Linked DNA regions of Homo sapiens: all the other regions are linked to region 1. Evidence: promoter capture Hi-C in 16 types of primary human blood cells and fetal thymus (Javierre and others, 2016). All regions are on one chromosome and are shown on one strand. Each heading gives the region's core, a stretch centred on a gene start or on the middle of the fragment in contact. The rest is flanking DNA. Distances are from core to core; before and after follow the strand shown.

Region 1 (2,888 bases), core at 222-2,721:
AGACACATTTATCAGCTGCTATCTGGTGACTTCATCATTTTGGTGGAATTTCAAAGAACATTAATTTAGTTATTTAAAAACATACTTCAAATTTTTTTAAAACAATGTAATCTTTCCTTTGCAACTGTTTTTAGAAAAATGTCTAGAATTAGAAACGGCCAAATAACTTCACGATATTATTTTATTCTATTTGTGGTGTTCTTAACAGCTCCCACTCCTCAAAACAACCACACACATCACCAAAAAAATGCACCAATGACAATCTGCCACACTCCTCCCACAACTTGACATTATATGCACTGTACTGCTACCCTTTTCAGCCCGGGACAATGGAGTGTCCAGGCAAGAAGGAAACCACGGGTGACTATAACATTTTCCTTTAGATTTTGTGACATTGGCAAATATGCAGTTGCAACTACCATCAGTTACACAAGTAATGTTCATTTTTTCCTCTACAAGAAAAAAAAAAACAAAACCCAGATGTACTCTTTCACTCTAATTAGGCTTTCACTAATTTTCAGTAAAAAAGACTATGGTGACATATCCTGAAGAAGGAGGTATCCAATAAATATGCACCAACAAAAGAGCAGTGGAATTCCGCGCTGGGTACCGGAAATAGGGCAGCACTAGCGGAGGTGGGGAATGCGCTTCCAAGGGAGGCGGAACGCAGAGGGGATGCGAGATGGAGCCCGGGGAGCTGCCGCAGCGGGCGATGGCCCCGGCCGGCGCCGGCCGTTCTGGTTCGTGCATCTGCCGCTGCGGGTCGCGCGCTCTTACCTCGCAGCCCGCGAACCAGCCTCTCCGCCCAGGCCACTCGGGGCGGCTGCCCTTCCAGGGGGAGGTGGCGATGCAGCGGGTCCCCGCCGCCGACTGGGCTGGGGCACGGCGGGCCCTGGTCCTCTCGCCGGCGCCGCCTCCCGCTCGGGTGGCCCGCGCCGTGGTAGCCCCCAAGCCCCCGGCTCCGCGCGCCCACGGAGCTCACGGCCGAGGAGGCGGCCGACCTCCGGCTGCCCGGGCGCCACTCTACGTCCATCTCCACCACCATTCCGCCTTCTTCCCCTTCCACCTCCTCCTCCTCCTCCTCGGCCTCGAAGCCGGGGTTATCGCGGCTCCACGCCTGCCGGGAGCACGACGAGAGCGGAGGAGAAGGGGAGGCCGCGGCTCCGGCCGGGGGGTCCCGCGCGGCCGCCTGCCGGATGCGCTGCATCTCGATCTCCAGGCCCCGCTGCTCGCAGAGGCCGCCCGGGGCGGCGAGGCTGGCGCCCACGGCCGCGCAGCCAGCCATCAGCCGGCCCGGGTCCGGCGCGCGGGGCGCGGGCGGCCGCTTGGCGTCCCCGGGCTGCTGAGGCTGCACGCGACTGGAGTTCACCATCGCGGTCACTGGCGTCCGGCGCGCGGGTGCGCGGCGCCGCGCTCGGCGCTGTGCGCCTCAGGAGCCATGTTCCTTTCTTCCCGGCGCCCGCCGCCGCCTGCTCCCCGCCCCCGACCTCCCCGCGGTCCCGCGTCCTCTCGCCCGCCCCTTTGGCCCGCCTCCCTCTGGCCTCGCCCCGCCTCGCCCATCCGCCGCGGCGCGCTGAGCGGGGAGGTGCGAGGGAGCCGCCCCCGCGGTCTGCGCGCTCGCCCGGCGGCTCCCGAGTCCGCGTTCCAAGTGGAACCGGAGCCCGGGCGCGGGCGCCCACGTTCCATTCCCGGGAAGGCCTGGGAAGGGAGGGAATCGCTCACCCGCCAGCCCGCCTGCAGGGAAAGGGCTCCTGGAGCTGTCGATGCCTGCCCGACGCTGAGATAACTCTTGGGTCCCAGTTATCCACCAGCCACTTCTGCCTCGATTCACCAAAGGGCAGGGAAAGAACCTTTTGGTGAGATGGTGTGAATTAGCGACATCCAGCCTGAGCTGAAGTCTCCAGCGGGTCAAAGAAATCTTTCCATTTGCAAACTACCAAGGCTGACTTGCTGTGCATTTGGCGGGCCTCCTGCCCCTGATTCTGCTGGTTTGGAGATGCTTTCTCGCTCTTTGGTTGGCTTCTGTCTCCACACATTGTGGGGATCCCAGGGATTCGTCATAGGACTCTCGGATCGCTGGTGCCTCCACTGTGATCTCCGGTCTCCCTGCGGCCAGCACTGACTTCTAGCAACAGAATCCTGCATGAGGGCCTAGGCACAGAACTTTATTTCCACTCTTCTGAACACATCTAATGTGATGCTCTGCAATTGTCTGAAATTTATCCTACCCTAAGTCATTATCTTGTCCCCTTCTCTGGAACCTGCTTCACTTCCCGTATCCCAAGGTGAGGTTTGGGGCTTCGCTGTCCTCCTCACTTCCCAGGCCACTCTTCTTCATGGAAGCCTCGCGGTTTACCCTCCACCGCCTACACCTTATCTTCTTGTTACTTTTGCCCCACAGATATCACCCTGATATGATCTCTGTTTCTCACTCCTGCTGGCTTGATCTTATGTCTTGCATTATTCCGCATTAGAACAATTGATCCCTGTCAACTCCCATCTCTATTCTCCACGTCGGTGTCCTCACTATTTCCAGGTTATATTGCAGAACCAAAGCTGCTTATTTGTCACGTTGATGCTTAGACACCTCTGTGGGCTTCTGGCAGCTGAAAGGATAAAATTTAATTTCTGTGGTTTGGTTTAGTAAATTCTCATAATCTGCTCCTGTATTTGTTTGTTAGGGCTGCCATAACAAAGTACCAGAGACTGGGTGGCTTAACAGAAATTTATTTGCTCACCTTGTCTCTACAAAAAATACAAAAATTAGCCAGGCTTTGCGGTGTGTGCCTTTGGTCCCAGCTATTAGGGACGCTGAGGTGGGAGGATCGCTTGAGCCCGGGAGGCAGAGGATGTAGTGAGCCAAGATCGGGCCACTGCACTCCAAGTGA
Region 2 (2,896 bases), core at 194-2,693, 450 kb before region 1:
TTTAAAGAGTCTCAGCATTTCAAATCAGTTGAAAAAAAGGAAGTATTAAGAAATGGTATTGGGACATAGGCTAAGCCTTTGGAAAAGCAAATAAATCTAGCTCCCCTCCTACCTCAGTACTGAAAATTCCAAGCGTACGAAAAATTTTAACTTAAAAAAAAAAACCTTAAAATTACTACAAAAATGAGTACATTTTTTAAAACACTGGGAGTGTGGATAGCTTTCCAGCCTAACATAAAACCCATAAGCCTTAACAGACAAAAAAATTGACAGACTACCCCCCAAAAAATGCACTAAAAACAACATGCACAAAAGGCAAAGTGAGAAAAATATTACATGTACGACGTGCAAAAGGCTATTCTTATTCAATATTCAAATACCTCTTCCATACAAATAAGAAAAAGATTTAACAACTCAAATTTCTAAAAGCCAGGCAAAGATAAACAGGCAATTTACCGAAAAAGGAACGCAAACGTCCAGTAGTTAAACGCAAAATAAACTCGCAGCAAGATACCAATTTCTTCACTCCACAGATGGGCAAAATTTTAAAGAACGCGGGCAACTATTTCCCCCACTTCGATGAGAATGTGGGAGAAGTGCAACTGAAGGCCAAGGTAAAATCCCATCACTGAGAACGACTCCCAAAGTTGGAGCAGTGACTACTTTCTCAAAACGAGACAGTGGGAGATGCGGCGGGCGGGGGACGGGGGTACAAACTTGAACAGAAACCTATGAGAAAGCCAGACTGGCTAAAAGGATGAAGACGGTGCCCGCATGCCCCGCACCGGCCACTTTGCTGAGCGGAGGATCCGCTGGTCGCCAGTATCCCGCTCACCCCGCGCCTGACACTGACCGGGATAAAAGACAGCTCAGGTGCGCCGTCGGCGAAACTATCCGAGCCAGGCGCGCGTCTGCGGCCTTCTGGGCTCTCCTCCCTCAGGCGCGGACCCCCGGCTGCCCGCCCCTCACAGCCCTCAGCCCTCACCCCTCACAGCCCTCACAGCCCTCACACACCAGCCCCACTCACTCGGCGTCCGGGCGCCGCCGCTCCCGGCGAGCAGCTGGTGAACCTGGACGCCCGCCCCGCCGCGTTCCAAGACCGCGAGGCGCCCCGGCGAGCAGCAGAGTTGGCGCGTCACCTCCACCCTCCGGAGCAGCGCGCGGTGGAGGCCCGCGGCGCTGGGAAAGAGCCAGAGCTGTGCGCCCGGAGACTTCGCGGGCTGGGTCGCGGCGGCCTTGCCCGCGGTCGAGCGCCCGTTGCGCCGCGACTTCCTCCGCGACCTCCGCTCCATCGCCGCTTTGCGGGGTCCCAGGCCCAGAGGCGAGAGGAGAGAACGCCTGGTCCCGGGACTGAGCGCGCCCACTGCCTCAGGCGTTGCGCTGCAGAGCGGGAACCAGCTGCGCGCAGCTGCGTGGCGTCGGGGAACCGCAGCCTCAGCTACTGAGCCCCTGCCGGGACGCCACGCCCCCCACGTGCTGTTTGGGGGCGGGGCCTGCAGCTCCAGTGGAAAACGAAACATAATGTTTGTTGTTGTTTTTAGGGGGCGGAATCGAAAAGGAAAAGGAAACTGTAATGAGAGTGACTTGGCAGGCGGCCAAAGGCAACAGGTCGTTGGCTGGGGTAAAGGCCGATGGGCTGGACTGAGAAAGTGTCCCCGGGCGGGCAGCGGCCACCTTAACTCCTGGACGGAATGGCTTTCGAGGAAACGCTGCAGTTCCACTAGGAGGCACCCTGACACACGCATTTCCAGAGGGAGGGATAACGGAAGCCAAAGTTTGTTAAGCGTTGTGCGCCGCGGCCGGGCGCGGTGATTCACGCCTGTAATCCCAGCACTTTGGGGGGCCGAGGCGGGCGGATCACGACGTCAGGAGATCGAGACCATTCTGGCTAACACGGTGAAACCCCGTCTCTACTAAAAATACAAAAACAAAATTAGCTGGGCGTGGTGGCGGGCGCCTGTAGTCCCAGCTACTCGGGAGGCTGAGGTGGGAGAATGGCGGGAACCCGGGAGGCGGAGTTTGCAGTGAGCCGAGATTGCGCCACTGCACTCCAGCCTGGGCGACAGAGCGAGACTATGTATCAAAAAAAAAAATGCGTTGTGCGCCGGGCTGAAACCGGCATAAAACTGGGCAGAGCTATGCAGGCAGCTACCCTCCCCCCCACCCCTACCCCCACCCCCACCCCCCTCGTGCCCGCTCCGCTACGTATTCCCGTATTCCCGGGTGCCTGGCAACAGTGATGTGCTTTAGGCCTTTTTTAGAATGCATACAAACGGAACCATATCTAAGTGATGTCTGGCTTTTTTAACTTAGCACAATGCTTTGAGATTCATACTATTGTGTTTAATTAGTAATTCATTTGTGTTATTGTTGAATGGTAGTCTATCATATGGGTAAGCCACAGTTTATTTATCCATTCACCAATTGATGGGCCTGTCGGTTGTAGGGAACAGGAGAAAACTTCCCCTTTGCCCTCTGAAGGGTCACCGAAAATCAACTGACAAGGCTGGGCCTGGGCTCCTGCCTGTAACCCCAGCCCTTTTTTAGCCCAAGGCAGGAGGATCTCTTCTTTGTGAAGTGTGTATTCAAATCTTTTGACCATTTATTTATTAGCTAGCTTGACTTTTTATCTAAGAGTTCTTTATATATTATTGAGTTCTTTATATGTTTCATACCATGTTCTTTATTAGCTATACGTTTTGAAATGTTTTCTACCTGTCTGTGGCTTGCCTCTTCATTTTAAGTGTCTTTTGAAGCACTGAAGTTTTCAATTTTGATGTAATTTATCCATTTTTTTCTTTTACATAGTTCATACCTTTTTTGTCCTACTTAAGACATTTTTGCTAAATTCAAGATTATAAGATTTCCTCATTTGTTACCTTCTGGAAGTTTTATA
Region 3 (3,027 bases), core at 233-2,732, 500 kb before region 1:
AATTATTTTGAGATTCCTGCATGTTGTTGTGTCAACAGTCCATTCCTTTTTATTGCTGAATATTATTCTATAGTATGGACAGACCACGATTTATTTATGTATTCACCTATTGATGGACATTTGAGTTGTTTTCCACTTCTGGCTATTATAAATAAAGCTGCTATGAACATTTGTATGTAATCCTTGCATGGACATACGCTTTTATTTCTCTTGGGTAAATTCCTAAGAGTAGAATAGCAGGATCATATGGTAGATACTTCTTTTTAAGAAACTGCCTAACAGTTTTCCAAAGTGGTCAAACCATTTAAATTCCCACCAACTGTATATAAGAGTTCTAGTTCTTCCACATTCTTATCAACACTTGGTACGTCTATTTAATTTTAGCCATGGTAATAGGGGTGATGTGGTACCTTACTTGGGTTTTAATTTGCAGTTCTATAATGACACGTTGTTAAGCTTATTTGCCATTGATATATCTTGTGTCTGTTCAAATCTTTGCCCATTTTAAAATTGTGTCTTCATTATTGAATTTTGAGAGTTCTTTACATATTGTGGGTAGGATACAAGTCTGTCTTTGTCCATTTTGTGCCGCTATAACAGAATACCTGAGACTGTGTAATTTAAAGAACAGGAATTTATCTCACAGTCTGGTGGCTGGGAAGCCAAGATCAAGACATCAGCAGATTTATTCTCTGGTTCAAGCTGGCACCCTTGTTGCTGTGTCTTCAGAGTAGGAGAATTGTGTTCCTCATGTGGCTGATTGTTGCAAGACTCCTTACTTGGAGTCAGAGCAATAGTAGGTAATACAGTTCTATGTAAAGAATAAAGGAGGAAGCAAAAAGGTTCCAGTCAGTTGAAAAGATTCCCTTTAAAAAGACTCCTCAGGAGTTTTGTGTGGGGCTGTGTCTCTGTCCACCCAAAGTCCCCTGGATCACCCGGAGAGGGATTGGGAGCTGGAGCAGTGAGCAGAATGAATACCTCACATGACCAGAGTGGCTACTCCAGTAATAGAGAACCCCTTTTGAGATGTAGTAATGCATGGAAGGACTTGGAGCTTGCTATTGGTGGAGTTCCCTGGGCCAAACAGCAAATTAAAGATAACTTGTGAGAAGTCAAAACTCAGATTCAGAGTTGTATAAGCTGTCACCTAGAATGCCTTACGAACTGTGAGGTGGCTGTATGAACAGGTAGACCTCATCTATCAGCTTAAAGAGGAGACACTTCAGCCACAGGCCCAGCAGCTCTACTGGTTATTGGGCCAGTTCAATGGTCTTATTCATTAACGGAAGTGCACCCAAAACAAAGATCTAGCCAAGTCTCTGTGTGCCTGGAGAGACTGGGCAGTTTGACCCTTAAGTTTGAAGATTCAACTGTCCTGCTGTTTGAAGCAGACACAACTGCTCTGCATGACTATCACCACATTTGGGTTTCTCAAGACCATTCAAATTCCTAAACACTTCATGCCTCATGCTAGCTTATCAAGTATCAGGCCCTTCCTGGAGAAGAGAGGCTATATCCTAATGCCAGAGCAGAAGTCAGCATCCAGCATCACAGATGTCCCTCTCAGGGAATGGCTCCTTGGAAGCAACCATACCAGTGGTCTTCAGGAACAACCCCCCACGACTGGCTCACCCAAAAGCAGACGTTGGAGAATAGACTTCTTCCAGAGCCTGCAGTTTCTTCAGTAATGTCTCAGGCAACCTAAAGGGCTTTGAAAACTTGCTCCTCAAGAGTCAGCAACAAGAAGTTCCAGAAAAACCAAGTTATCCAAAGTGACAGCCATTTTACTACCAGTTCTTTCTCCATTTAATTGAAAAGGTGGAAGATCTAGAGCTTTCTGATCAAGGTGAGATGATCTATCTAGTGGCTGGTGATTCCCCAGGAATCCTGTAAGTTGGAGAAGCCTGAGAATGGCAGTTATGAAACCAGTGAGAAGTTTAAATTCTTGTTCCATTCCTACAATGTGAATGATTGGCTTGTCAAAACCAACTCCTATATCAACTGTTGGGTCAACCAGCCCAATAGTGTAGAGATTTTGAAAAACCTGGGCAATGTGAAGTGCCTGAATGACTACTTGGAAGCCAAGAAACTATTTTCTACCCTCAGCATCGTTTCTGAGGATTGACTTGTCCAGAACCATCAGGACCCATATAAAGTAGAGGACATATGCACAGCCAATGAGCCCTGCAGAAGTTTTGCAGAGTGTATGATGAGAATTGAGAAGGAAGCTCTGTGTAAGTGGCTTCTAAAGAAAGATAGACAAAATAATGGGATGCCTGAGGAAACCAAACCTGAGCCTGAGAAGCATCAAGATTCCCTGAATATGTGGTCCTGTCCTTCAAGAAAAGAACAAGCTAAGGCATCAAAGGCAACGGCTCCTTCTAGAATTGCTGATTCAAGTCATAAACAACAGTCCCTTGTCAGAGTGGCTAATCCAGCCCCCATATAAGGAAGGAATTCCCAAGGAAGTGCCTAGTACTGAGGACAGGGCTGGCCAACAAAAGCTTAAAAGCCCCACAATCACTTCCTGGTGTCCCTTTAATACAGCTGACTGGATCCTGCCAGGAAAGAAGATGGGCACCCTCAGCCAGTGATCCTCTGGAGAAGACAAGTGGCTACTTCGGAAGAAGGGCCAGGAAGTATTACTTAATCCACCCCTACAGGAGGAACATAACTTCCCCCAAGACCATGATGGCTACCCTACATTTTGTGATCTCTTTGCCTGTATGAAGCTTAAAATCGAGAAAGAGAAGTGATTATATCAAACTCCTCTACAGATGTGAAGGAACAGACAAGAGTTCAGCAGCTTTTCTGCAGATTATTACACATCCATGAGCTAAGTGACTGTGACTTGCCAAATAATTGTGTTTCTGGGTCCGACCAGTTAGCTTAGTCCCTTTCCTGCCTAAATTTGAACTAGTGAAGAAAAATACATCATCGGATTATGAGTTACTATTTAAACAAAAAATGCTGAGGTGACTCAGTTCTTTCCTTTTTACAGAAGTATTAATTCACCCCACACTAGAA

What was found. The method cuts DNA at HindIII sites, captures the fragments that hold promoters and counts their contacts. A CHiCAGO score of 5 or more calls a contact.
Region 2: the fragment with the promoter of HERC5 here is called in contact with the fragment with the promoter of PKD2 in region 1 in 4 of 17 cell types (monocytes, fetal thymus, erythroblasts and 1 more); the score reaches 7.6 in monocytes.
Region 3: a contact is called between a fragment that was not itself captured here and the fragment with the promoter of PKD2 in region 1, in 9 of 17 cell types (naive B cells, monocytes, fetal thymus and 6 more). The highest score is 8.6, in naive B cells.

What each region holds. Positions count from the first base shown.
Region 1 is chr4:88,006,218-88,009,105 of GRCh38, reverse strand. It overlaps PKD2 (polycystin 2, transient receptor potential cation channel), which reads right to left and starts at 1,471. Exons shown (of 15, transcript NM_000297.4): 1 at 778-1,471. The coding sequence starts at 1,372. RefSeq lists silencers at 589-728, 779-1,708. The HindIII fragment of the contact is 13,052 bases long and covers 1-2,888 here.
Region 2 is chr4:88,455,666-88,458,561 of GRCh38, reverse strand. HERC5 (HECT and RLD domain containing E3 ubiquitin protein ligase 5) reads right to left here and starts at 1,443. Exons shown (of 23, transcript NM_016323.4): 1 at 1,028-1,443. The coding sequence starts at 1,292. The region is part of intron 1 of LOC102723458 (a long non-coding RNA gene); the gene reads left to right. RefSeq lists an enhancer at 1,384-1,813. The HindIII fragment of the contact is 3,677 bases long and covers 1-2,896 here.
Region 3 is chr4:88,508,347-88,511,373 of GRCh38, reverse strand. It overlaps the pseudogene NCOA4P2. Among named protein-coding and RNA genes, the nearest start is that of PIGY, 14 kb to the left of the region's middle. The HindIII fragment of the contact is 2,048 bases long and covers 459-2,506 here.